Regions from separate parts of the Homo sapiens genome. Here regions 1, 2 and 4 are each linked to region 3. Evidence: promoter capture Hi-C in 16 types of primary human blood cells and fetal thymus (Javierre and others, 2016). All regions are on one chromosome and are shown on one strand. The core of a region is centred on a gene start or on the middle of the fragment in contact, and the rest is flanking DNA. Distances in the headings are between cores, read along the strand shown.

Region 1 (6,882 bases), core at 1,024-3,523, 630 kb after region 3:
AGAAATAGAAACTCTGTAGAAAGTCATTCATAAAAATGGAACATTTACTTTTGTGACTATCACCTCCATTCTACCATCTTAAAAAGAGGTTTGTCATTAGTCAAAACCAGTTCAGCAGATTAACTGGCCATCACCTCCACACACTGCTGTATTTCAGTGAATTGTGATCCCTAATATTCAGGACACAGCTTTAGACCAGAAGGCCAACCAAAGCACGAACTGCAACTTCCAATAATACAGACCAGCTGGGTAGCAGTCTCTTAAGAATAAACTTCCAGACACCAACATCTGAGATACAGCACAGTAAATGTAACCCATGGAAACAGCAGGCAGATCTGGCCCCCACATGATGCCTACTCAGACCAAGAGGAGGCTGTGTGTGCTGAGGTCCTGGGGCCTTCTGCACGATGACCAACCTATCTCAAGTGGAACGGTCAAGACGGTCAGCCTGGCCCCGTGAGCTTCACCTCAATCAGTCATGCCACCCAGTAACACAGAGACTCATTTCATAAAAGGTGACTGTATATTCAGTCACTTTCTTGACTTTTGACTCAAAGCTTATTTAACACCCATGGCAATGTAAATTCTACATCAAAAATAAATGAGAACATTATCTGCAATACAACATGGATTCCAGATAGACTGGCACTTGATTTCTGTGGCTATGATGTTAAAAGTGCCTTTTTTCACAAAGCATTTCAAATCAAGGTAGCCAATAGCAAACAGGCAAAGTTTGCAGAGCTCAATGAAGTCTGAATGATTAGTGCAGGTATCTTCCTGTTTTTCTTTACATATTTCCTCCCTACCTCCCACAACAGGCTCTGATCCAAGGACTAACCAAATTTGGCAAGCTGTTGTCAGACCTTATGGACATGCCTTTCAGAGCTCCATATCATTTTAGAAAATTGGAGAGTTTGTCAAGATATCCGGTAAAGGGTTGGGGCAAGGGAGAACAAGTACTGGCCAGCATTTCACTCCAAATATCCTTGTATGAGACCTCAGCTCCAAGTGGGCCATGCAACCAGGGAGATGAGCTGGGGAATCAGAGGGAGGCAGCAGCTAAAGTGGCAATGCTTAGACTCTTTCGTTTTGTTACAAAGGGGCGACCGCGTGGAGTTCATCAGTGTAGCTGCGGCAACCAAGATCTGCTTTGCATGACCCAGAAGAGAGGAGCTTGGAAGGAAGGGCAGGAGGTTCCTCCTCACCTAAGGAGAGAAGAGAGTACAGAGTCACACTGTCATTGCATTTCACTGGGCTGGGCAGGTGCTCATGGCAGAATGTGACTGGATCTGGGTTTGGACTATGGGCTCTGTATAAACGAGGCAAGAATCCCAACCAACTCAAGATGGGGCACTCTCATCCTCCTAACAGGTTCTAGTTCCCTTAGTTGAGGAAGGAAGAGATATTTCTTAAAAGTCAAGCGTTTAGGCCGGGCGCAGTGGCTCACGCCTGTAATCCCAGCACTTTGGGAGGCCGAGGTTGAGGGATCACTTGAGGTCAGGAGTTTGAGACCAGCCTGGCCAACATGGTGAAACCCAATCTCTACTAAAGATACAAAAATTTAGCTGGGCATGGTGGCGCATGCTTGTAATCCCAGCTATTCGGGAGGCTGGGCAGAAGAATCGCTTGAACCCAGGAGGCAGAGGTTGCAGTGAGCTGAGATCATGCCATTGCAGCCTGGGCGACAGGGTGAGACTCCATCTCAAAAAAAAAAAAAAAAAGTCAAGGGTTTGTATGCATGACTCCAACTAGTTACAGACATGGTAAGGGACAGCCTGAGATGGCATCTACCTGATGCTCCCTGCAGAAGTAGGCCTTCCTAGAGAGCCCTCATACCTGGGACCCTATGCTGAAGGATAGAAAGAATACTGTACCCATGAATCCCAGACTCAATGAATGTAGCTTTAAAGACAATGGGGGCGGGGGGTGTGAACATTACAGGTCTAAAAAAGACGCATCCACAAACTGTTACCCAAGACCCTTGGGGCCCAATGTGTTTTCGTGTCTGATGTTTTTGGAGTTTAGAAAAGTGATACAGTGCATAGTCTGTATGTGGCACAACACCCCTTGCAGGGTCTGGGCAGCTCACTATAATTTAGCATTAGTATTTCTGCAACTCAAACATGTGAGTACTCCCATCACCTGGTATAAATCAAGACTACCAAACGAGCTGTGTTCTCATCAGGTTTCATTGCCCAATAAGTTGGCACCAAAAGTGGAAAAACGCTTTGACTGATTTCAGAAGCATGGTCAAAGGCTGCGGCCTGTTAGGACCCGGCCCCAAAGGCACCTTACCCAGGCCTGAAGAGGAGGACACGCTCTCCGTCAGGGAAGACGTTTCTGTCTGGTCCGTCGAGAGTCCTTCCATCAGTGGCAGAGACAGCTCGGATGAGGGCACAGACGAGTCATAGATGCCTGAGTCCCGCGGCATGTCCGAGGGGCTGCCGGCTTTCACCGTGTGCAGCAGGGGTTGCAGGGCGGCGCTACCGTCAAGGGCAGGCCGGGCCTCCCCGTCTTGGTCCAGGCCCCCATGCTGACTCTCGTGCTGGGAGTCGGCTGGTCCGGTTGCCCCAAGAACAGCCGCCTCTACCTTTAGGCAGAAGTCACTCTCAGGCCCTGGTTTGCACATGACATCATTTAAAACCAAGCCCGAATCAAATTTCTCCAAGACTGGCTCCCGGTAGCGCAGTGGAGGAGGATGGAAGGGAACGAACTGCTTTTCGAACCAGTCGGGCTCCTCGTCAATAAACTGGTGCATGTTGCAAATGGCGACGTATAGGGACCGGCCTGACTTGCTCCGGAAGTAGTTCCTTCTGCTGCCCTGTCGCGTGTGCTGCCCCGGCTCCTGGAGGCCGTGGTCTCGGGAGTGCAAGTGGGAACAGAGCTGAGGAAGATTGTCCATGAGTCTGTACTTGGTACTCAGGTCTAGGATACCGGGGACGTCTCCCTCGCAGGAATAATCAAAGTAGACGGCGATAAACTTGCTGAGCGCCGCGGACGAACTCTGCTTGGCCTGGCGGAGCTTTTCGGCAATGGCTGACACCGCCACCAGGAAGAGCTCTCCTTTCCCCGAGCCTCGGCCACCTCCTTTGTGTTTGTAGTTCTTCTTGTCCACAAAGTACTTCATACCTTTGGAACAAACCACAATGATGAACTGGGACTCGTGGATCTTCTGGATGACCCATTCTCTCTGCCCTTCTCTACAGAGGCTGAAGTCTTCCCACAGGTCCAGAGCCACCTGGAAAGAGAACAAGGCACCTCACCCATACAGAAGGCTCGGGAAGAGGCTCGGGAAGTGAGTAACAGGAAGGGAAATGTCAGAAGGAGGCCATCTCATCTGCCCCTTAACCCTTATTAGCACAGCTATGTGCAGGCTCCAGGTTACACCATACCAAGGAACAGCTAAAGTTCCGTGGGTGATGGTCACACCCTAGTCCCTCTGCAAAAACTTGCCATCCATCCATTTTTGTATCACATGGAGTCATTACCACTCCTGCCCTACAAGTGAGGGGACAGAAGCGCAGTGCTTTTGGCACCTTGCCCAAGTCACACCCTACATAGGATATCCTCAAGGAAGCAACAGGTGGTAGAGAGCACAGGACAGAGAAACTGAGGTTGGTTGATCTGGTGAGTGAGGTGCCTAGATTGGAGGGGCAGATTCTGGAGAGAAGGCTGGCAGGCTCTGAGAGGAGGATGTGGATGAGTGACTCCAAAGTGAGCTGGGAGATGGGGCTCAGGCCTGGATGCCAGTCACCCACAATTATAGGTGACTCACATCCAGACAGTGACTGACAAAGGGGACCTATCTCGACACTCTCATAGCCTCAGGCTCACCTATGTTGTTTACTAGTTGGTCCATGGCTGGAGAGGAGGCTAGTGAACTGCATTAACATGGTCATTCTGAGTAACTCACTCAGGACTGGCTAGCACCTTCCTCTATGGCTTCACACAGGTATACAAGGCTACATCTCTACAAGGCTGGTAATTGACAAAGCTTTACCCCCAAAGGCGGTCTGGTAGAGAGACTGTGGGCGTGGCTGACAAAGGAGAGAAAAATCAGACATGTGTGGCCCCTTAGAGGACTTCACCTTCTCAGACCACTTTTACCTAATTCTACCAGAAACATCTCTTGGTTATTGTGTTGATGTCTTTCCTTCTGTAGTTATTAATTCCCAATGGCTATGACGAAACACAGCAGCCACACTATCTTACAGGGAAGGGCATTCTGAAACGACTTTGTTCTCCTCTTCTGCTCTAAGATGTTACCAATGGGGAAAAAGCCCCAACATCCATCCACTTGCTGAAAATAACCCTGAATTGTCTTATACTTTCCTTAATTCTTGTTAACATTACACATGCTAAAAGCTCAGTGGGAGTATATACCAAGCATTTTTTAAATGTTTCTATCTTTGACCCAGCAATTCCATTTCCAGGCATCTTTCTTGGGAAATCATCACAAATGGGACAATATTGAACCACTGAGATGTTTAATATTTGTATTAACTCAGTTATGGCAAATCAATATGGAGGATCATGTAGCTATTTAAAATTGCAGTTGACATATAACTACTAATAGTGTAAAAAATTATTAAGAGACTGCAAAAAATCATTTCAATCAGCCCCAAAGGCAAAACTGTACGTGTGAGTTCACCTATATGGAAAAAGACTGGAAGGAAATAAACCACACATGAAATATGAGTTCCTCTTTCTAAGATTTTCCTTAATCAGTTTGGGATTCCAGACAATGTTTTATTTATCATCCTTTTCTAGTTCCAAATTTTCTACAATAACTATTACACTAATAACTGGAAGAGCGTTTTCCCCAGAGGCTAAATACTTGTGAAGTAGAGCAAACTTGGTTGCCCGTGGTATCTGAAAACTGTGTGCCATTGGCTAGAGTGTAGTTATTTTTCAGCACGTGCTGATCCACCAACCTCACGCTTTCATGCAGAGGGAAACTAGGCTAGCGTAGTATGTTATGTTGACACTAGGGGGCAGCCTCACCACATGGAGAGATTCTGAAAAACATGCCAATGGGCAGTTTCAAAGCAAAAACAACTTCCAATCACACAGTTATTGTACAGTTCTTGCATTTTCAAGAAACAGGGTATGTCTTGCATGAGAGTTTCAGACTTCACTCTAAAAATGTACATTCTGACATTATAGAAAAGCATATTAATAAGATATTAATAACTCAAGAGAACAGCTAAGAAACCAGAGCAGATCATTTCAGTGCTTGACAAAATATTGTTTTCTGGGAGTGCTCCCTTCCTACCTCCCTGTTCTCTCTGGCCAGTGCCGTCTCCTGCATCATGAGTTTCTCCCTGTCTATGATTCCACCAGTCAATGGTCAAACAGCTTCACAGAGCCCTTCGTTTATCACTTCTCCCTGGACCTCAAGATCCCCTCTAATGGCAGCCCCGTCCTTCATTCCCCTTCTCAGCAGAACTCCTCCAAACAATTGTGCGAACTCACTGCTTTACTTGCCACTCTCTCTTTGACTCTCCAAGTGGGGCTTCTGTCCTGAACATGCTCACTAGGATGTCATGAGTGACACCCCTCAACTCCAATTGCATGTTTCCACGGAAGCTACTGGTCTTCTTAATGCTTACAAAACTTCCTGCCAGGTGGGTGCCACTCAAAGCTTTAGAGCAGGAGTTTGTCAGAGTTAGAACTAAGTATTATGAAATATTTAGTGCTGGTGATGGGTAAGACAGACTGAAAAAAGAGTGCGAGACTATCCCCAGTTTGAAAGCTGTGGCACTAGTCAAGGGCAGGTGTCACCACAGGAGGCCCAGAAGAGAGGAGAAGGCAGCGGGGAGAGAGTACAGGGCAAGTGTCCTGGCCAGGGTAGGAGAAGGAACTTTAGATTCCGCACCTCACAGCCACAGAAGTCCTGGAGGAAGTAGGCGAAACACTGGACGACATTCATGTGATTCTGGCCATCTTTACTGGAATAGCAGAGAAAGACCTTCGGCCGCGGCCGGAGCCTCTCTCTTGGGAGTGCTGCAGTGTATGTGGAAGACTCAGAGCTCTCTTCATCTAAATGTGAATATATATTTTCTAAATTGGAAAAGAAGATAAGGTTGATACTTGCAAGCAACGCTTTGTTCTATTTCCTAAGAATTGAAACCCAGTGCTATCTTCAAGAAAGAACACGTCTACCTAGAGCAGTCCCATTCCCCAACTCCATCAGCCCCCTCTGATCATCACTTGGAATGGGACAGCTGATTTCCGCAGTGGAGCAACGAATGGTCAAAAATTGTTCTTTACCTGAAATTGATCTTGGATAAACTAAGAAATGCTGCAGGGGTCACCCTGGTTAGCAGAGCGCTACCTTAGTTAGCAGAGTGCCCAGAACTGGCTCTTGCAGCCAAGTGCACCTAGTAGACCAATTAAGCACAGGCAGAGCTGATTTTTTTTAAAAGTTTTTATCGATGTAAAATTTACAAAAGTAAAGTACATAAATCTTAAGTGTACATCTCAGTGAATTTTTATGGAAGTATATAACTGTGTAATCCTCACCCAGACCAAGCTATGGATCATTTCCAACTCCTCAGAAGGCTGTCTCATGGTGACTTTTGTAAATGACCAAGCCCTACCTATATCCTTACTTATACTTCAGGCTTCCTTTATGACCCTGAATTTACTCTCCTATCATTGAAAATAGAATTATGGGCCAGATGCAGTGTCTCATGCCTGTAATCCCAGCATGAGAGGGAGGCTGAGGCAGGAGGAATGCTTGAGCTTAGGAGTTCAAGACCAGCCTAGGCAACATAGTGAGACCCCATGACTACAAAAAAAATTTTTTTTTAAAATTAGCCAGGCATGGTGGTGCATGCCTGTAGTCCCCAGCTACCTCAGGGGGCTGAAGTGGGAGGA
Region 2 (6,937 bases), core at 227-2,726, 550 kb after region 3:
GCTATCATTAATTAATAAACTAATTTATAATGATTAAAGTTATGCTAAAGTGTTCACATTTGGGGGAGGTTGTGATGCTTTACGTTTATGTCGTGTCTCACCTTCCCCACACCAAAAAAGTCACAACCTGGCTTTTCCCATTTAAAGACAGTATCTGCCAGGTAGTGTGCTGAGCATGTGACATGTATCATCTCATTAATCCCCACAACCAATAATATGAGGTTGGTGCTAATATTATTCCTTTTACAGATGAAGACATCGAGCTTCAGGGAAGTTAACATCCTTGCCCAAGGTCATAAAACAAAGAAGGAATTTGAAGCCAAGAATGTCAGATTCCAGCATCTGTATTCTTTCCATTATATATGCCATCTCTCGCAGAATTTCAAGATTTTCCAGAAAAAAAAAAATTAACAGTATCATGAAATGAGGGATGAGAATGACCGAGTCCAATGTTAAGCCACCTGGATTCATTGGGTAGCAAGGACCACAGTGGGTAGCTGGCCCATAAACCAGGACCATCCTCCTGGCCTCCAGCCTACATCACTGGATGGGTGAACTGTGACAAATCACTTATCTCTCTAGACCTTGGTTTCTTTATTTATAAAAGAGGAACAAGAGAGCAAGGGGGACTTCCTGAGTCTCAGGTAGACCAGGGCACTCCCAGAGGGCTCTGTAGGTGGCCATTTCTCCTCCATGGATGGACGCTTCCCACCTCCCTTCCCGGCACAATTCTTCAGGATCAGGTTTCTTATTTTTTCCCTGGACCCAAGTGTGTGCACCCAGGTAGGCAATGGCAAGAAAGTCACAGTCTTTCTCAGCCTCGGTGTGTTCCTAGGGAGGAGATGAGGAGGGGAGGGAAAGAAAGGGGGCTCGAAAGGAGCTGGAATGGGGGCAGAGTGCTTGAACAAGTGCTACACCTGATCCCAGGAGGTGTAAACATATGCAGAAAAGCTTGTCCCTTAAGTTGGCATGTGTGTCAGATATATTTACACCTCAATCAAATTAAAATAAAAAATACTATTTGAAGAGATGCCACATCAGATCAGGCAAGATTTTGTCAAATTAAAACTTTGCTACTATAAAGGCTCTATATTAAGTATGTAACATCCCATCCAAGACACCTTTTTAAAGGCATCTACCTTCTAAGTTCATTATGAAAAGGGAACAATAAGGAATTGACAAGAAGGATTATTATATGTGGCTGAGAGGCTGGGGGTAAGGGTGAGCTTGGGGAAATCTTTTCTTTAATAATCAACCCTCAAGGTGCACGGATGATGCCTTAACTCTCTATTTCCATCTATTTTCATGATTGATTGATTTATGAACGAGACAGAGTTTCACTCTTGTTGCCCAGGCTGGAGTACAATGGTGCAATCTCGGCTCACTGCAAACTCCACCTCCCAGGTTCAAGTGATTCTCCTGCCTCAGCCTCCCAAGTAGCTGGGACTACAGGCGAGCGCCACCTCGCCCAGCTAATTTTGTATTTTTAGTAGAAACGGAGTTTCACCATGTTAGTCAGGCTGGTCTCAAACTCCTGACCTCAAGTGATCTACCTGCCTTGGCCTTCCCAAGGGCTGGGATTTCAGGTTTTCATGCCTAATTTAGTGGAGCAAATAAAGCCTGAAACTTCAGGTAGGGACTTAAAATCCTGATGCTGTCACTGATTTGCAGGGTCCTGGGGCTGAGTCAGGAATCATGGCTCCCTGCCACCTCCCCTCTCACTTGTGAAAAAGGACAGTGAAGACCACAAAGGGGATCGCTGGCCCAGATGGCATGAACATCTGGGGTGTCTGCCACCCAGCATCCAATTCCCTGTGTGTGGGTGACAGCACCTGGCCTTCCCATTGGGGGACCACCCCTCCCTCACTCTCCATCCATGGGTTCAGATGAGGCTGACTCCATCCTCCACCCCCGAGTTCCAGAGTTCCAGGAGAGAGCACGAAGCCCACGTTGTGAACAAATCTGAGTTCACTCGGGAAGCTCTGCTGGAACAAGTGGGAATAAGCTTTCACTCCATAGCTGGAGTCAAATGCCAGCCTGGAGTTGGTGGTATCACAGGGAGGAAACGTTCCTGAGAATGATTTCAACACAGAAGAAAGCAGAGCCAAGAGAAGGGCAGAGTGACAGCAAGGCCTAATCGACACTGAGCCCCTGGATCCCACCATGCCTGAGGCTATCTACTGTCGGACCTTCCATTCCTGTGGGCCATTACATTCCCTATGGAGCTTGATCCTGAATGAACTGCATTTCTGTCACTTGCAATAACATTTCCTAGCAGAACCACTGCATAGAATCCTAAGTCTCTTAGTTATAAGGGATACTGGTGGCTGTACACCCAGCAGCATTTTGCAGATAATAAGCATTCAATAAATGTAAGTTGGTCTAATGGATGAATGGTTTGTTCATTTCCTCTAGCTTCAATGCCTCAAACAGAAGGAAAGCTATCCTGTCAGTATTACTCTAAGCCACAGGATAAACCAAGTACATCTTCATGGAGTACTAATTTAAATGACAGAAAGTAGCTCCATGCTTGAAAAGCACAGCTGTAACCAAACATAGACACCTGTGGTTCACCCCAGGAATGAAAGGATGGGTCAACATTAGGAAATCTATCAATATAATTCATCTCATTACAGAGTCAAAAGAAAAAACAAAAACAGATGTCTCCTTAGATGCCAATCTTGTTGAATTCCAACATATATTCCTGATTGAAAAAAGAAACTTTTAACAAAACAAGAATGGAATGAAACTTCCTTAAGAGATATAAAGCTCAAACTGAAAGCCTGCATCACATCTCCTAGGGAAACATTAGCGCACTCCCACTGAAGTGGGTACAAAGCAAGAGGAACTCTACATACCACCGCTAGTTAACATTATTCAGGAAGCGGCCAGGCGCGGTGGCTCACACCTGTAATCCCAGCACTTTGGGAGGCCGAGGCAGGCAGATCATGAGGTCAGATTGAGACCATCTTGGCCAACATGGTGAAACCCCATCTCTACTAAAATACAAAAAATTAGCCAGGCATGGTGGTGCGTGCCTGTAACCCCAGCTACTTGGGAGGCTGAGGCAGGGGAATCACTTGAGCCCGGGAGGCAGAGGTTGCAGTGAGCTGAGATCATGCCACTGCACTCCAGCCTGGCGACAGAGGAAGACGCCATCTCAAAAAAAAAAAAAAAATTTATTCAGGAAGCATTTACCAATCCAATTAGAAGACAAAAAAAGTCATACTGACTAGAAAGGAAGGGAAAACAAAATTGTATTAATTTGCAGATGATACAATTATATGTCTGGAAAAATCCCTCCCTACAAAAATATAGTAATAATAAAATAAGATCTGCAAAACTATTAGAGCAAACAGGAAAACTAGATAATATTAATCAACATGAATAAAAGAAGTTGGCTGGACATGGTGGCTCAAGCCTGCAATCCCAGCGCTTTGAGAGGCTGAGACAGGAGGACTGCTTGAGTCCAGGAGTTCAAGATCAGCCTGGGTAACCCAATGAGACCTTGTTTCTACAAAAAAATTTTAAAAATTTAGCCGGGCACGGTGGCATGTGTCTGTAGTCCTAGCTACTCTAGAGGCTGAGTCAGGGGGATTGCTTGAGCTCAGGAGTTTGAGGCTGCAGTGAGCTATGATCACCTCACTGCACTCCAGCCTGGGTAACAGACACTGCCCTGTCCAGTCACCTGGGGAAGCCCAGGAGGTCCCTGTCTTTGCCAACAAAGGAAGAGAGGACCCATCTTTCAAGACATGACTCGCAATAGCAGGGCTGATCAGACTGATCCACACGTGTGACCATCTCATCACCCACATCTGTACTGATCTGAATGTCATTTTTGTCTCAAAAAAAAAAGTTATTAATCAATAGCTTTCCTATATACAAAAAAAAAGAAGCATGAATACATGCTGGTGATCCAGCTAACATAAATGATTATTCCAGAAAAACATTCCTTCTTGTGCTCTGCCACATTTCCTCTTCTCTACTTGTGTGAATGTTGGTGGCATGCTTGAAACTCACAGCTGTACCCAAACATAGACACTACCAACCAGGCACTTATTTTGCCTAGGCTCAACCATCTCTGTTGACTGGGAACCAATCTCCCGAGACTGCCCTGTCCAGTCACCTGGGGAAGCCTAGGAGGACCCTGTTTTTTGCCAACAAAGGAAGAGAGGACCTATCTTTCAAGACATGACTCGCAGTAGCAGGCTGATCAGGCTGATCCACACGTATGACCGTCTCATCACCCACATCTGTACTGACCTGAATGCCATTCTTTGTCCAAGCTAAGCCCCTGGGCCTTAGCACATGCTGTCCCTGATGCCTGCCATGATTTTCCTCAAGAAGGCTGCAGGGCTTGCTCTCTCAACATTCAGGTCTATGTTGAATGTTATTCTCTCAAAAAAGCTCTCCCTGTGTCTCTATGTAAAACTCCACCTGCTTATGCTCACCCTATCACATACTCTATCTTTCCTCACAGCATACACCACCAGCTAATGCCACTTCACACATCTGTTTATGGTCTGTCTCTCTCACCAGAAGGTAAGCTCCATCAGGGCAGGGACCACCACATCCGCTTCATTCACTGCAGTATCCCTATCCCAAACACAGTCCCAGATGCACAGAAGGGGCTCAACAGATGTTAGTTTTATAGGTGGATGGATGGATTTGTTCAGTCCCCAGATCCACTCTCAATTCTACCACCGAATATTTTTCATGAGTTCACCTCTCTCCATTGGTTATCCAAGCTATCCACTCACTTATTCTCAACAGGTATTTATGACCTCCATCATCTCTCTCCTGGATGGCTACAATACCCCCAGCTGGTTACTTAGCCCTGAGTTTTGCTTCCCTCCAAATCTTTTTCCCACTCTAGCCAGAGATCTTTTCTCAAAATGCAGATTTAATCAGATTTAAGAAGCCATTTAAAACACTTCAGTGGCCTCTTGGGACCCTTAGGACAGAGTCTAAGCTCTTTACTACCAAGGCCAAGAGGACCCAGTGTTCCCAGCCCAGAGGACTCCCAGGCCCCTGCCATATGACATGATCCAGTCTCACTGAGATGCTGTCTTTGCTTCCGGCACATCACATCTCTGTGGAGTCCGGACCTTGGCACACACTGCCCCTTCCACATGGTTTGCTCTTTACCTGGCTATCCCTCACAGATGCTTCCATTTTCTGTCTGCTACTTCCCACGGGGAATGTTAGGTCCACCCCAAAGGGACTACAGATCCTCACACTTCCCTGTCACATGCTCACTGCCCTGGGAATAGCTTGTTTAGGTCTGTGTGCTCCTGTACTATAAGATTCACAAGAGTCGGCCTGTGCCATTCACAGCACCCAGAACAACGCCCCCGGCACTGAGTAGACACTCGAGATAGACTTCCTTGACTTTAATTTAAATCATGCCTTCTCCAAATTGGCATGGGGTTGGTTTCTTTGTGTCACATCTGATGCTGCTTTGGGCACCCCAATGCACCCTTCATACTCCCTTGAGAAAACAGCAACACACAGGTACATGCTTACACTTGCATACACACAGCACTCGGGAACCCACCACTCCCCAAAGTGCCCATTCCACCATGACATTCTAACCTTGCAGAAATCTTCTTTCCTGCCTAATGTTATAAACAGAATATTGAAGCTTCCTACATCAAGAACACTCTACTCCAATTTGACCTGGATCTATCAAAAAGAAGGAAAGATATTAAAAAAAAAAAAAAAGTAGGGGGCTGCCTCTGAAATATCTCCCTTAGCCACCATACCTGGAAGGCCAATAGCAAACAGATTCAATTTTACTTGACAATCTTAAAAAAAAAAATCAGAGCTATACCTGTATATGGCTTATTTCTGTAATAAAACAAAAAAAAATCCACTTTGTGTAGGGTAAGAGCAATTTTGTTTTTTTCTTTTTTTGAGACGGAATCTCGCTCTGTCGCCCAGGCTGGAGTGCAGTGGTGCGATCTCGGCTCACTGCAAGCGCTGCCTCCCGGGTTCACGCCATTCTCCTGCCTCAGCCTCCCAAGTAGCTGGGACTACAGGCACCCGCCACCACACCCGGCTAATTTTTTGTATTTTTAGTAGAGACGGGGTTTCACCACGTCAGCCAGGATGGTCTCGATCTCCTGACCTCATGATCCGCCCGCCTCGGCCTCCCAAAGTGCTGGGATTACAGGCGTGAGCCACCGCGCCCGGCCAAGAGCAGTTTTTTATTACAAATGCTTATCCTTGTTAATAGTTGTTAGAATTATGGTCAATATAATATCTCAATCTGATCTAAAACAAAACAAATGCAGGCTAATGCCTTCACCAGCGTGTCAACTGAGCAACACCAGCATGGGTTATCCTGACGTTGGAGTGATGTCACCCACGAGGGCCTCTCACTGCAAATGCTGCACCTGGACTCCACCCTTGAGGCTTCACTTGAAGTTCATGGAACTGGAGGACCAAGGTAAATGGCACCGCAAAGACACACCTAGACAAACACAGAACGTGGATCTGACTCTTCAAAACGCTAGTGCCATGGAGGGCAAAAATAAAGGAGGGATCTGTTCTGGATCGAAGGAGACTAAAGAGATGAAATTATCAAATACAGTGCTTTAGCCAGGAATGGGCCGAGATGAGTAGGGAAAGGAAAAGGGGTTTCGGAGCAATGGAGGGACTCTGGATCCTGAAGAAGAGTTAGGAGACAGTATTAGTCATAAAACTTCAGAGCTGTGAAAAACCATCACCATCTTTACAATGACACAATGATCCACGATTTACCAAGGAATTTCATGTGACCTAGTCCCACCCGCTCACTTCAGAGATGAGGAAACTGCACTCAGAGGAGTGGCTAGACTCTAGCCCTAATGCAGTGGGTTGCTGAAGTTGGCACACACTGGGAAGAGTGATTGCACACATCTCAGTGACTCTGTGTTAGCATGTTGAAGTTGGC
Region 3 (7,172 bases), core at 507-3,006:
CCATAAAGAACGTTTGCCGGCTCCAAAAATACCTTATAAATCCATCCAGTAGAGCCAAGCCCCAAGTACTGTATACTGAGAAACAATGTGACTTTACAAGGACAAGAGTGACCATAGGAGACAAAGTGCCACACCCTTTTCCCGGATAGCTCAACGGTACATGTTGTCTCTTATAAAGACTGCAATTCTGGAGAAATAGGTGGGCAATTCTAACACCCCCTCCCCCAATTCCTTCTTTACACAGATTCATTTTCATTTTTAAGCCAGTGGCCTCGGCATCCGCAACTACTACAACTAATAATCAGGGGGGTGGTGGGTAAGGGATGGGGAGGACAAGGAAACACAGGTCAAATATACTTGCTTCTAAAAGTCCATTTTCAAAGAGTTTTCTTCCCGCTTGTCTGCCTCTCACAGCTGTATCCCCATACCAGGTGGAAACCAATGGTTAAGTAAAATCACTGATTTAAAGAGCCAACCAGGAAACTAACCATGACAAGTGGGAGCTGCCCTCCTCTCCCGAGCATTGATTGGTTCTTTGGGTTCCACCGGTCCCCATTCTACCCACGTAAGTGGCAGGTGTGGCTGTCAATCACAGAGGGAACCGACAATTCACCGCTCGGGGAGTAAATTGCCTTTCATACAGCAAAGGCAGGTAGCCGCCTAAAATCGATCCACTCCTAAAAGAGCGGACCCTCCCTCTCTGGCAAGGAGAACAGAGACCCTTAAGTACAAAATAAATAAGGCAGGGCCGAACGGAGAGTTTACGAGCGCTATTTTATTACCCCGAACCAAAGCAGCTCTTAATCTTCACTGTCCTAAGACGATCTTTCAAAGGCTCGTACGGTATTTTTTTTAATTAGGTACACCTTCGTAAGTATCCCTTTTTTTGTATAATTAGGAGATGGGGAGGAGGAGAGAAGGGATGCCGTTCAGTTCAATTTCACATCGTATTCCTTTTCATACACCATCCCCTAGCCCTCCCCGATAAATCGGCTTCATTTTCCCTGACACGGGTTTTTTAAAAAAAAATATGCTCCCCTCTGAACCCACCCAGGCGGCCAGCCACCCCACCCCCGGGCGGGGGCTCCACCTTTCTCCACTTTGTTCTGCTTAGGATTGCTCAAGACCCCCGACCCCGCGAACACCCCACCCCTCGAGGCAAGAGGGGACGCCAGGCAGAAGAGGGGGATCTGAGAGAAGAAAGGCGATGGCAGTGAGGGTGGCTGCCGGAGAGGGACTGCGGGAGGTGGCCCGGGCAGCCGGGGCTAGCGAGCGGCGCCCGCGCGCTGGAGGAAACCGTGCACTTGTTCCAATCCGGGGGTTTATACATCAGGGCAAAGCCTCCCTTAGGCCGCCCCATCCCTCCCCCCGCCCAAGAAAGCCCCGTAGGAGGCGGATGGTTCACCCTTAGGCTCCCCACGATAACGCATTGCAGCTCCCCACGAGCGAGGGGGACCCGGCACGAGGAATGCCCGGGCACGGGCGCCCCGAGGGAGCCGGGCACCAGGCGGCCCCGGCCCCGGCGTCGGCGTCTCACCTTTCCGATGCTCGCCCCGGGGCCGTCCCACATGGATTTTTACAACCTCTCGTCGCCTTGGCCCCGGGCGGCCAGGAGGAGCAGGAGCCGGCGCCGGAGCCGGAGACCGAGCGAGCAGGAGCGGGAGGCGGAGGAAGAGGAGGAGAAGCGGGGCGGGGAACAGGGAGGGAGGAAAGAAGGGAAGGAGGAGGACACTGCTCGGAGGGCCAGGGCCAGGCGCGGGGCCGGGCGGGGCCGGCGGCCGAGGGGGCGGCACCCGCCGCAGTCCCGAGACGCGCGCTCGCGCGGCGCTGCCAGGCGCTGCGCTCGGCGGGGCCCCCACCCGGCCGGCCGGCACGCTCGCCCGCTCGCAGAGGCCCTGACTCACATTCCCAGCATTCCCGAGGAGCCGCTAGGGGGGACGGGGCTGGGGCCCGGGCGCCTCCGCTGGGGGCAGCAGAAAGCGCCCGGCATGGGCGGGGGTCTTCGCAGCGCCTCCTCCCGGCAGGCCGCGGCGCGAAGCACCTGTCCCCAATCTTCCATCCCCGACGCCCCTTCCCGGGTACCCCCCTCCAAAAGCTGCCAGGCACACTGGGAACTTGTCAGGTGGCTTTGGTGACAGGGGCAGGGATGGCACTTATCTTTTAAGTTAAGCATTGGAGTAAGGGGTCGTGGTTACCATACCCTGGCACCGTCCATCAGCTTTAATGTTCCTTAGGAGGTTGAAAGAATTTCATAAGATCTTCACTTTATTGTTCCCCCAAAGAAAGGACAGAATGAAAGATAAAGACAGGAACAAGAGAAAAGATCGCATCCGTCATATTCACTGGGTGCCTCTTCTGTGCCCTGAAATGTGCTTGCATTGTCCCAATTTAAGGTAGAAAGATGATGTCTGAGTTGATACGCGCGCACACAGGCAGATACACACACACACCTCAAGGTAATGAGCAAGAGGATTTGGACAAGTTTTTCATTGGAAAAAGCTTCCACTCAACAAGTCTGGAGCCCCAGCTGCTGCCATTTTATATTAGGGAGGGTACTGGGATAGCCATGGGCATCTTTAAACTTGGTCTCTTTCACTGAGTAGTCAATTTGCAGGGATAGAGCAGTCATTTCCTTCCTGTCCTGATGAGTCTGCTTCCAGCAATTTCAGTGGCCAGATCTAAATTTCTCCTGCTGGGAAGCTCAGACAAATAAAGCAAATCCAGCCATGGGATGTTTGGGTGCGCAGAGGCATAGAATTAGTACAGCGATTAGAGGATGGATCCTTCTTTCCTCCCCGATAGGAATTCAATTTTTTTTTTTTTTTTTTTGGAGACAGAGTCTTGCTCTTTCTCCCAGGCTGGAGTGCAGTGGTGCCATCTCAGCTCACTGCAACCTCTGCCTCCTGGGTTCAAGCAATTCCCTGCTTCAGCCACCTGAGCAGCTGGGATTACAGGAGTCCATCACCACGCCCAGCTAATTTTTGTATTTTTAGTACAGACGGGATTTCACCATCTTGGCCAGGCTGGTCTTGAACTCCTGACCTCAAATGATCCGCTGACCTCAAGCTTCTCAAAGTGCTGGCGTTACAGGCGTGAGCCACCGCGCCCCGCCGGAATTCAAATATTAAATGATTCCTGCTCAGGGAATCAGACTCTGAGAGACAAGGATGCCTTCCTGTTCCAGCCCAAATGCCTGTTCCTTAAGCCTGTACACCTCTGGTAGCTAAGGTTTTTCATAGACTCTCTTTGCCCTCATCCTCTTCTTTCTCTCTCTGAGAAATCAACACTCATTCTCCTGACCTAGATGCTCCAGGGGCAAAACCAAGCTCCACCTATTGTGTTTTGTTCCCCACATACATCCTTGACAGCCTCTGCTCAAAAGGCTTGTTGTATATGAGAGCCTTGTTGAGAGTCCTTTGAGAATTCCTAAAATCCCACATCTTTTGAAACGTGGCCAACATTTTTTAGTACCCCCCTCTGTGCAGGCACTTACATTTTCTCAACTATTCTCACAAATATTCTATAAGATGTTTACCAACTTTCAGAAAAGTTGGGTAACATACCAGGGTGATCCCATGAAGAATTTATTTAAATCAATGCCTGAGGTTCACTCTGGTTGGCCACCCATTCTCTTTTCCTTTGATCCGTGGGTTTTAAAAGGAACCCTTGACATTCAGGGGATCAATTTATTATGTACATGCTTATGTACATTTTTCCCACAGAGAGAAGATTCATGGTTCTCAACAGATTTCTTTCAAATTGGGTCCTTGACCCAGAAAAGTTAAGAATAATTACTTTAAATAGAAAGTGACTCTACATAGTAAAACGAAGAGTGGAAGTTATAGGAATCTTAAGCAAGTCATCTTTATCCTCTCTGGGACTTAGTTTTCTGAAAATAAAAAGCGGAACTAAAGAATCTTAAGATTGCTCTCAACTCTAACATTTTCTAACTTTAGGTTAAAATACACATATATGTGTGTATAGGTACACAAATACATACACAAACACACACACACACAAACAAACACACCCTCGCAATATGCTAACAAGTAGCCATTGTGAGATCTAACCCTTCAGGACAGAAAATTCTAAAACATATTATATTTTCTAAAACATGGTCTGTTGCTCCAGGGTTTTTTGTTGTCGTGGTGGTTTGGTTTGGTTTGTATTGTTTTGACAGTTATTGATGTCTTTCTTCATCTTCACAAGCTCTTTTCAAGCAAGTCAGAGAGAGCATACTTTCATGGCAGATATTTTTTTCTCACATATTCATTCATTCATTCAACAAATACTTATTGAGCATCTACTTTCTCCTAGGTCCTGTGGGTTCAGAGCCCCTGCCTCAAGGACTGTACAGTTTAGTGATGGAGACAGACAAGAAGCAGGCAATAACAATACTGCCTATGAAGGGACAAAGTTCTGGGAACTGCAGGAACATGCAGGAAGGATAACCAACTGTTCCCCTGGGGTTCAGAAAAAGTTTTCCTGAGGAAATGTCAAATTTGCTGCCACATCCAACTTTGCTGCCCTATGGTGTGCTCAGCCTGGAGTGGCAGCTATCATAGATGGGAGCTGTGGTGGACACCTGCCCCTGGATGAGCCATGACAGGCTCTCCTTCCAGTATTTCAAACTGAGCTTGAAGAATGAGTCAGTCAGCTGGCATTGAATGGTGAGATTGTAGACTGTGGTGGCCCAAATTAGAACAATGGCACCAAAAACCATGATGCCAAAGTCATCAGGAAGTAAGTTCTAAGATCCTTGCCAAGGAAGTTGGTCTGTAAAGAGGAGAACAGCCAGCCATGTAGACAGAAATGAGATTTCTAAAGACCTAAAGGCCTTGGATATCTACCTGCTTATTTGACTTCCCCAGTGTGAGTATTTAACCCACCAGTATCTCAAACTTGATTTTTATGCACCAAGTCTCCTCTCTCCCAAGGTCACCCATCAGGATAATGACATCACCAATCATCCTGTTGCTCAGGTCCAAACCTAGGAGTATCATTAATTCTTCCTTTTGCTTATACCACACGTTTACACCATCAGCCAGTTCTATCAGCTTTACTTGGGGCTGAGCCAAGCCATATCAAACCCTGAAGCAAAAGAAAAACTCTGTACCCGTACATATTTTTTGAACCAAATAGAAAAAGTTAAGCTCTACAGTGAAAAAGCATGACTATATATAAAAGCACCGTAATGCCCAATCAGTTTTCCTATGATTGTCAACCCTCACAAGCCTGCCAGTGTGGGAATATGAGAGCCAAGTGGCCTTGGAACTGAGCACAGGTTGGAAACAACTGTTCTTCTTGCACAATGATGCAGGGTCATAAAACAACAACCTGTGTTGGTTTTGTTTTTGTTTCTTTGGGTTTTTTGCATTCATTTTGAATATAGTAACAGCAACAAAGAACAAATACCAATTAGACAAAATCAGTACTATGTGCGAGGCCCTGTTCTAAGCTCTTTGTGTGCATTAACTGACTTATTCCTCGCAATTGACCTAAAATATACCATTATTACACCTATTTTACCAACAAAGGCACTGAGGCACCTCTAGGTAAGGTAATTTACCAGGGCCACACAGCTAAGTCATCGCAGGGCTGAAATTCTAACCCAAGAAGTCTGACTCCAGAACAAACGAGGTAAAATAAACTGGACTTGGTGAGCAATTGGCTATGTGCAAGAGAGAGGAGTCAAAAATGTTCCCAGGAGTCTGGTTTGGGCAGCTAGGTGGATAGTGTGCCATTCACTAAAACTGGAAATAAAGGTTGGGGAGGAGTACAGGTTTATGGAAAGTTTATAGATCATATGGGAAACCCAATTATGAACAGTTTATGGGTTCAATTTAAGGCTTTTCGTATTTGAGATGCCAAGGACCTCATGGTAGAGATGTCCAGAACATGGCAGTTTCAATGTGCTTTGAAGTCAGACAGCAGATACTTGATGAAGACAGTATATGAGAGTCACCAAGTTTGGTGATTAGAGTCCTGGGCATAGCCGAGTAACCCAGAACAGTCATTAGCATGTCCACAGGAAGAATCTAGTTGAATAAGAAACAAAATCCCTAAACAACTTATAATTGTCTGTTCTTCTTAGGCATGAGGTCATTTGCGCAAGTCTTAACAGGGTAGATTTTAGCTCAAAAGAAACATGATTGAGCTGCCACTTTAAAACAAAACAAAACACCTAATTAACTGACCCATCACCACAACAGTTGGACTGGAAAAAAGTCACCTGATCCTTTGGAAGCCAACAATTGGTGCCGTTAAACCATTCAAATTATATTTGCCAGAAATGTTTTAAGACCTTTGTAGGTTTTAAGCATCATAGCAAAGATATCAAAATCCAGCACCATCAAAAGTATATATTTTTTTGGCTGTGCATGGTAGCTCACATCTGTAATCCAGCACTTTGGGAGGCCAAGGCAGGAGGATCACTTGAGCCCAGGAGGTCAAGGCTGCAGTAAGCTGTGATCACACCACTGCACTCCAGCACAGGTGACAGAATAAGACTCTGTCAAAAATATATATATATTTATACACACACACACATGCACACACACACATTTGTTTTTCTGTGAAAATGCTTGAAAGTTTTTTAAATTATTTGAGCAAGAACCATTCATTTTACTTACTTGTGGCTGTGGTTGTCCAAAATCATTAAGCATACTCAGAGACTATTATAAGGTGAGAAGAAAATCTAACATACAGTTGTTTGCAAATGAAAGGAAATGTTTATAAATATGAAAACCCATAAAGTTATATTTTGTAGACATTTATTAAACATTTAATTCTCAATTTATAATTTTCTGTAAATCTGTCATCTCAAGGCAGGCAAGTCTTTCAGGGCTTTGCAAAAATGTTGATTAAATGTTCATATAATGTAAAATAACATCAATTTCTTTAGTTCCTTGGCTTCCAATAACCTCATTTCCTGACTTTAATCACTCATGAAGTCTGACCCCCCCCTTGCTATCCTTGGGTTCCATGACAGGCCTCTATGTTTTTTCAGTAGATACCTTCTTTTTTGTTTGTTTGTTTTTGCCTCCTTAAGTATCTTTAGTGAGTTTCTCTTCCTTGCAACCACAAGTACTGTCGGAATTGAAAGTCAGCTTCCTTCCACCTAGGCAAGCCCCCCACTCTGGGCTCTGTGTGTTTCTCTGTGGTATTTTCCA
Region 4 (6,608 bases), core at 1,276-3,775, 610 kb after region 3:
CATCATTAGCCATCTGGGAAATGCAAATCAAAGTCACAATGAGATGCCACTTCATACCCACTTAGGATGGCAATAATCACAAGATGGATAATAACAAGAGTTGATGAAGATGTGGAGAAACTGGAACCCTCGTGCACTGCTGGTGGGATTTTAAAACAGTGCAGCCACTTTGGAAACAGTTTGGCAGTTCCTCAAAATGTTAAGAGTTACCATATACCTAGCAATTCCACTGCTAGATATATATTCAAGAGAAATAAAACCATATGTCCACAGAAGTTTGTATATTCTTCCCTGAGGAATGGAAGAGCCAGGGCAGGTAAAAGAGAGGAGAAATGTATACGGTCAAAGAAAACACTCTTGGACATAACTAAATGGGAAAACATTAGTTGTTAGCACTGTCCAGGCCAAATAAAGAATTAAAAAAAAAAAAATAGGCCAGGTGCGGTGGCTCATGTCCGTAATCCCAGCACTTCAGGAGGCCGAGGTGGGAGGATTGCTTGAGCTCAGGGGTTCAAGACCAGCCTGGGCAACATGGCAAAACCCTGTCTCTACTAAAAATACAAAAAATTAGCCAGGCGTGGTGGCACATGCCTGTAGTCCCAGCTACTAGGGAGGCTGAGGCATGAGAATCACGTGAACCCGGGGGGCAGAGGTTGCAGTGAGCTGAGATACCACCCTGGGCAACAGAACGAGACTCTGTCAAAAAAAAAAAAAAAAAGAATAAAAATAAATAAAAACAAGCCAGGCGTGGTGGCTCACTCCTGTAATCCCAGCACTTTGGGAGGCCAAGGCGGGTGGATCACGAGGTCAGGAGTTCAAGACCAGCCTGGCCAAGATGGTGAAACCCCATCTCTACTAAAAAATACAAAAATTAGCAAGGCGCAGTGGCAGGCGCCTGTAATCCCAGCTACTCGGGAGGCTGAAGCAGGAGAATCACTTGAACCTGGGTGGCAGAGGTTGCAGTGAGCCAAGGTCATGCCAGTGCACTCCAGCCTGGGTGACAGAGTGAGACTCTGTCTCAAAATAAATAAATAAAAGAAAAAACATTAGTTGGTAAGCAATACATACAAAATGAGCCCATTATGTTGGTTTTCAAAGATACTCACAGGTACCCATGCCTGTGTGAGTAAACAAAAGCAAGAGAAATCTATGCCCAGTTGATCACAAACATTCTCTCTGGAAGCAAGCTTGGGATGGGGAAGGTGGAATTTTATTTTTTACTTTTTTTTTTAATATCTCAGCATATTATACCTGTAATTACTTTTAACTCTACAACTTCTGATATGTTTACGTTTATGTTCAATAAGAATATAATCAGGATTTCTTATTTATGTTTCTAGCCAAAAGGGAAGGAAAGAGAGAGAAAGCCACTGGAGTTGGGCAGCGTGGGAAGCTGTGAAAGTGGACAAGCGTGAAAGAGCTTCCAAGTAGTGGAAACAGCAGAAGCAAAGATGTGAACATGGGAAAACCTCTGCAGTATCTGGGTGACTGTGGGGTTTGGCTCTGTTTGAGCACCCCGGGATGATTGGTGGTGGGGTGTGGCTGAAGGTGAATTGGAACAGTGCACTCAGAGCCAGGTTGCAAGAGTGCTGCATGCTCCTCAGGGATTGGCTCCGGCCAAGTGCCCCAGCCTCCTTTTCTGGAGAATTCTGTTTTTGACTTGGGCCCCATGTCCAGTTCTGCTCTGACTTGTGGGTCCACCTTAGAAAAGTCAGGAGACACCTGGGAAATGAAGGCACTAGACTCTTCCAGACTCGTTCCATGGCCACCCAGAGGCCTTGGGTCATCCACCCAACATCCCAACAAACCCCACTGTGCACTGGCATCATGCCAGGGTCCAGGTGTCCTGCCAGGAGCAGCCTCTGCCCTCCCAGAGCTGACATTTCAGGGGGATGTGTGCCAAAGTGAGACCTGTCAGAGATATTTACAAGCAGCCATCTCTCTTGACATCGCTGTATCCCAAATAAATCTTCTGGGAAGACCCTCTTCACCTCCAGCTCTCCTGATACAGCAAGGCAGTTGTGAGCAAGTTATTCATAACTCTACACCTCAATTTCTTGGTATGGAAGATGGGGATAATGAGAGGACCACAGGATGGTTGTGGAGACTGTGTGAGGATATAGATGCCGAGCCCAGTAGCACAGGGTGCAGCCGTTCAAACCAACTGACATTTACTGAGGGCTGCTTTGTCAGGTCCCTCTCTACAGTATACTCCAACACACACATACACACACATCTGTAATCAATAATAATCCTGCAACATCTGAGAGTCTGGCAGCTGTTTGTCTGGGCCTTTGCACATGCTATGCCCTCCCTTCCATCCCCCACCCCCACCAGGGGTGACTCGTAGCCATCCCTTTCTGCATCTTCTTAGATATCACTTTTTCCAAGAAGCCTCCCTGTCACACTTCCCCAATATCACAGATGAAGAAATCAAGATTCAGAAAGGTTAAGTTACTGGCACAAGGTCACACAATCCAGATCTCATACTCTTAGCCCCCGGGGAACCTTCACTGTATTAAATGACATCAATTGATCAATCAATCGATCAATCAATGAAAGAGTGGGAGGCATGCATCTCCTGATCCCCGATCCTATACATTTTCATCTCTTTATTGTTTCTATCAAAGCCTGCTAAGTAATTACTTTCCCTCTGGGTAAGTGCCACTAGGTGATGAGGTGAGGTAATCAAATGACATAGAAGAGGAAGGAGTCCACTGCCAGGGTAGGTGCAGTGGAGCAAGTCTTACAATGTGCAGGATTATAACTCCAGCAATGACCCCTAGGCTCATGCTCATTCCCCAGGTGGCAGTTTCAGAACACATTGCTCAGGTCTCACCCTGTAAATGTAGGTACCAGCCTTCTAGTTGACCATCAGAACACACAACGCCAAGATCTTACTCCAGCCACCTGCCAGGACCTGGAGGGCAGGAGGAGAGTTCTGCCTACATTGTCTCATTTTCCCTCCCCTTCTGCAGTGAGATAGACCATGTCCAGTGCTCAGGAGTTGACTGGCCACACTGGGGAGTTTGACCACAACATTGGGCTCCATATGCATGGAATGAGGTTGCATGCAATTGTCCATGAGGCTGCTCCCTCATTTGTCTGGGTTTCTGCTCCAATGCTATCTCCTCAGAAAGACCTTCTCTGACTGAAGCCAGCTCTGCCTCCATCCCATCACTCTGGATCTCCTTCCCCAGCTTCATCTCCATTACACTGGCCACTCTCCCTCACATCTTATTACTGATCTAGTTGTCTACTGTCCATCTCCACCACTGGGATGTAAACTCCACAAGGGAGGAATGCTGTCAGTTTCTTTGACTGCTGTGTGGTCAGTACCAGGGCAATGCCTCGCACAGAGTAGCCCTCTCTCCCTAAATGTTTTTGAATAAATGAAATAAATGAGCTAAGTGGCTAAGACATGTGTAAATACAACCTCAATTAGGAACAGTCTTGCCAGTCCTCTTTTTTTTTCTTCTTTTTTTAAGAAAAAAAAAAAAATGGGCCCGGCATGGTGGCTCATGCCTGTAATCCCAGCACTTTGGGAGGCCAAGGCAGATGATCACTTGAGCTCAGGTATTCAAGACCAGCCTGGGCAACATGGTGAAACCCCATCTCTACAAAAAATACATAAATTAGCTAGGCATGGTGGTGCATGCCCATAGTCCCAGTTACTCAGGAGGCTGAGGTGGGAGGATTGCTTGAGCCTGAGAGGCAGATGTTGCAGTGAGCCAAGATCACGCCACTGCATGCCAGCCTGGGCAAGAAAGCAAGACCCTATCTCTAAAAAAGAAAAAAGAAAAAGAAATGTGTACCCATTTTCATAACTGAATAAACAATTTTCATCAAAGTAAAGAAGAAAGCAAAGCTTGTCACCAAACCTCTCCACAGCAGACCTCACTCCACCCATCATGCTGATACTATCCCATGAAGAAACTGACTCAATAGATTAGAATTATATATTAAAAAACTTATTTTCAGTTGACTTTCAACCTGTGCAAGCGAAGTGATATGAATTAAAGAATATTTGTACAAACCATTAAGAAAATGGGTCCAAGGATTAATTTTCTTTTAAATATAGCTAGGGTTGCTTTAATAAATTGATTAAGGAATGATACAGAAAAATCCAGGAAAAGAACAAAAGAGAGACAGCCCCTACCCACCCCCACCTCCAACCCAATGAGTTACAGGAGCCTGAACAATACATAACTTGGCCTTGAAGGGTTACTAAACTATGGCAATGGCCTTTCTGCTTCATGCTTCTTTGCCTCAGACCCCCTCTGGTGAGACATGACTGGGCAGCATACTAAGTTCTGGTCAGGGGCTCAGGGACCTTAGTTATGGCAGAGAACTTTAGAGATGGATATTGATGAATGCAGGATAGTCAGAACACGAAGCAGACCATAAGGACTAGAATGATAGCATGCAGGAGGCCACATCTCGTCCTCAACAGTGTGGTACAGGGACTACATCTGGTTCTCTGCCCCCTCTCCTCCAATGGTTCTCTGTCCCCTCTCCTCCAGTGGAACAGGCTATTGCAGGAGATGACAAGTTCCCTGTGCCTAGAGGATTCAAGCTTAGGTTAAACAGTAACTAGGAAGAGGTGTTGCAGAGGTGATTTAATCTGGAGGTGAAAGTATGCTACATTAATGGTCACTTTCAACCCTGAGCTCCTGACAAGCAACCAGTTCCTTTGCATTTCACTACTCTCTAGACTCACCTCACTTCAGTCAATGGGTGTTCATTCACTCAGGACAGTTATTGTGCACCCGCTGTATGCCATGGAGCAGGAGTCAGTAGTCAACAGGACAACACACCTCTGTCCTCTTGAATCCTACATTCTCCTTGGTGGATGCACACAATAAACCTATAAATCAATGTATGAATAAGATCATCCCGGGCAAGCTCTATGAATAAAATACAAGAAAGAGTGTGATAGAAACTAATGGGGGAGGGGCTGCTTTGGACAGAGTGGTCAGAAAAACCATCTGTACAGGGGAGACATCTGAGCAAAATGGCAAGAAAGTGCCTGGCATGGAAGAAGTGATGCTAGGTTGAGGGAACAGCGTGTGCAAAGGCCCTGAGAAGTCTTCTGAAAACTTGAACTCAAATGTTCATGAATTGCATCCCAGCCTAAAGGTCTCACCACAGGCCAACAGTCCCTAACCTCACAGCCTGCCTCTCTTTCCCCTAATTGACCAAGTCAAGGCTGACCTGTATTGCCCACTGAAAAGTGTGTTCTGGGAGGGGGCACAAAGGGCAGCCCCCAGTTTGTAGGGAATTGAGATGTAACGGGGCAAGAACCTCCACTTTCCTACCAGAAGTTCAGAGTCCACTTTTCTGGGGCACAGGCCTCATGGAAAATACAATGTAAGGGGAAACCTCTGGAAAAATAACTGTGCTTCAAGTGCCTCGTGTAGATTTCAGGACGTTCAGTGGGGCTCCAGGTTCAGAGCTCTTATCTGTGGAGATTCAGAAGACAGAAACTAAATTGCCAAGAAGAAAGATACCAAATGGGTGCAGACCAGGAAAACTCTACAGATGGAGGGGGCAATCTGCTAGAAATGAATGAATGTGGGAGAAGGTGACAAGATCAGGTCCCTGGACCCTTAAATAGACTCCCACACTCACAGAGACTAGACAATGTCAGACTGTCAGGAGACCCAAGGCTTAAAAGAATCAAGTGAAATCTACCCACCCTCCCCCCAACCAAGAGGCAAACATTCAATCACACCCCAGAGCTTCCAGAGAAGGTCCAAGACCCCATTTCCCAACAGTGTCCTTGACAAAGTTCATCTCTAATCCCACATTCTGAGATATACTTTGCACAAGGCTAGTTAGCCATAGGAGGTGTTACAGCAAAGCTCAAATTTCCCAGTGCGGAAGGGAACACCATGGCTACTGTGTAAGCACCACCAGCTCCTTACCAGAATAAGGGGAAGGAGCAACTGCCTGCACACCCACCTCATTGAGAAGCTAGGGCTGTGCACGCGCTGTTAGATGTCAGTGATAATAATCACAAGAGCAGCTAACACAGAGGATTTACCCTGCCCCAGTCAGTATTTTAAGCACTTTATCCCTATACAACTCTTTAAGGTTTGTACTGTTATCATCCCCACTTTACAGATGAGAAAACTGAGGCATAGGTAAGCGAAGTAACTTGCCTAGGACTACACAGCTAAGACAAAGACCTAGCAAAGCTCCCCTTCTCCACACCCCAGGGAAGAAAGTGGTTATACCTGGGTAGTGCATGGAACGCTTAAAAATAAGTTTCTACCGGTACATTCAGGGCAACTACCGTCTGGCAGTTCTCGCGTCCTCGCCCAGTGCGGGAAGCAAGCCTGGGCCAGGCAATAAATCCAGCAAGCCGAGTCCTCTAAGAACAAGGCGCTCTGTTTCCGCAACATTCAAGCCCGTGATGGGGCTGCTGATAGTGCAAGAGCAGCTCTCCACCACCGCAAAGCCCAAGGGAACCCGTTTCCACTCGGCTCAATCAGCTTCCAGCCTCAGAAAACGCTCACCCGTCTCTGGCTGCGAGGCACCCACGCTGACCTTAACCCCTTGGCGTCCTCCACCCTGGTGTCCTATCTCGGGATTTTCTGGCTGCT

What was found. Contacts are between HindIII fragments. The CHiCAGO score rates a contact against its expected background, and 5 or more counts as called.
Region 1: a contact is called between a fragment that was not itself captured here and the fragment with the promoter of ERC2 in region 3, in 1 of 17 cell types (total CD4 T cells). The highest score is 6.2, in total CD4 T cells.
Region 2: a fragment that was not itself captured here is called in contact with the fragment with the promoter of ERC2 in region 3 in 1 of 17 cell types (non-activated CD4 T cells); the score reaches 6.0 in non-activated CD4 T cells.
Region 4: a contact is called between a fragment that was not itself captured here and the fragment with the promoter of ERC2 in region 3, in 1 of 17 cell types (total CD4 T cells). The highest score is 7.6, in total CD4 T cells.

The regions. Positions count from the first base shown.
Region 1 is chr3:57,095,301-57,102,182 of GRCh38, forward strand. It overlaps IL17RD (interleukin 17 receptor D), which reads right to left. Exons shown (of 13, transcript NM_017563.5): 11 at 5,879-6,063; 12 at 2,296-3,238; 13 at 1-1,205. The coding sequence ends at 1,093. Among named protein-coding and RNA genes, the nearest start is that of SPATA12, 38 kb to the left of the region's middle. RefSeq lists an enhancer at 1,916-3,115. The HindIII fragment of the contact is 3,437 bases long and covers 556-3,992 here.
Region 2 is chr3:57,018,590-57,025,526 of GRCh38, forward strand. It overlaps a transcript of ARHGEF3 not described here. Among named protein-coding and RNA genes, the nearest start is that of SPATA12, 39 kb to the right of the region's middle. The HindIII fragment of the contact is 1,054 bases long and covers 950-2,003 here.
Region 3 is chr3:56,466,711-56,473,882 of GRCh38, forward strand. ERC2 (ELKS/RAB6-interacting/CAST family member 2) reads right to left here and starts at 1,757. Exons shown (of 18, transcript NM_015576.3): 1 at 1,538-1,757. RefSeq lists an enhancer at 411-705. The HindIII fragment of the contact is 8,117 bases long and covers 1-2,497 here.
Region 4 is chr3:57,072,026-57,078,633 of GRCh38, forward strand. It overlaps SPATA12 (spermatogenesis associated 12), which reads left to right. Exons shown (of 2, transcript NM_181727.2): 2 at 1,341-3,407. The coding sequence starts at 1,670. The coding sequence ends at 2,242. It also overlaps a transcript of ARHGEF3 not described here. Among named protein-coding and RNA genes, the nearest start is that of SPATA12, 15 kb to the left of the region's middle. The HindIII fragment of the contact is 2,681 bases long and covers 1,186-3,866 here.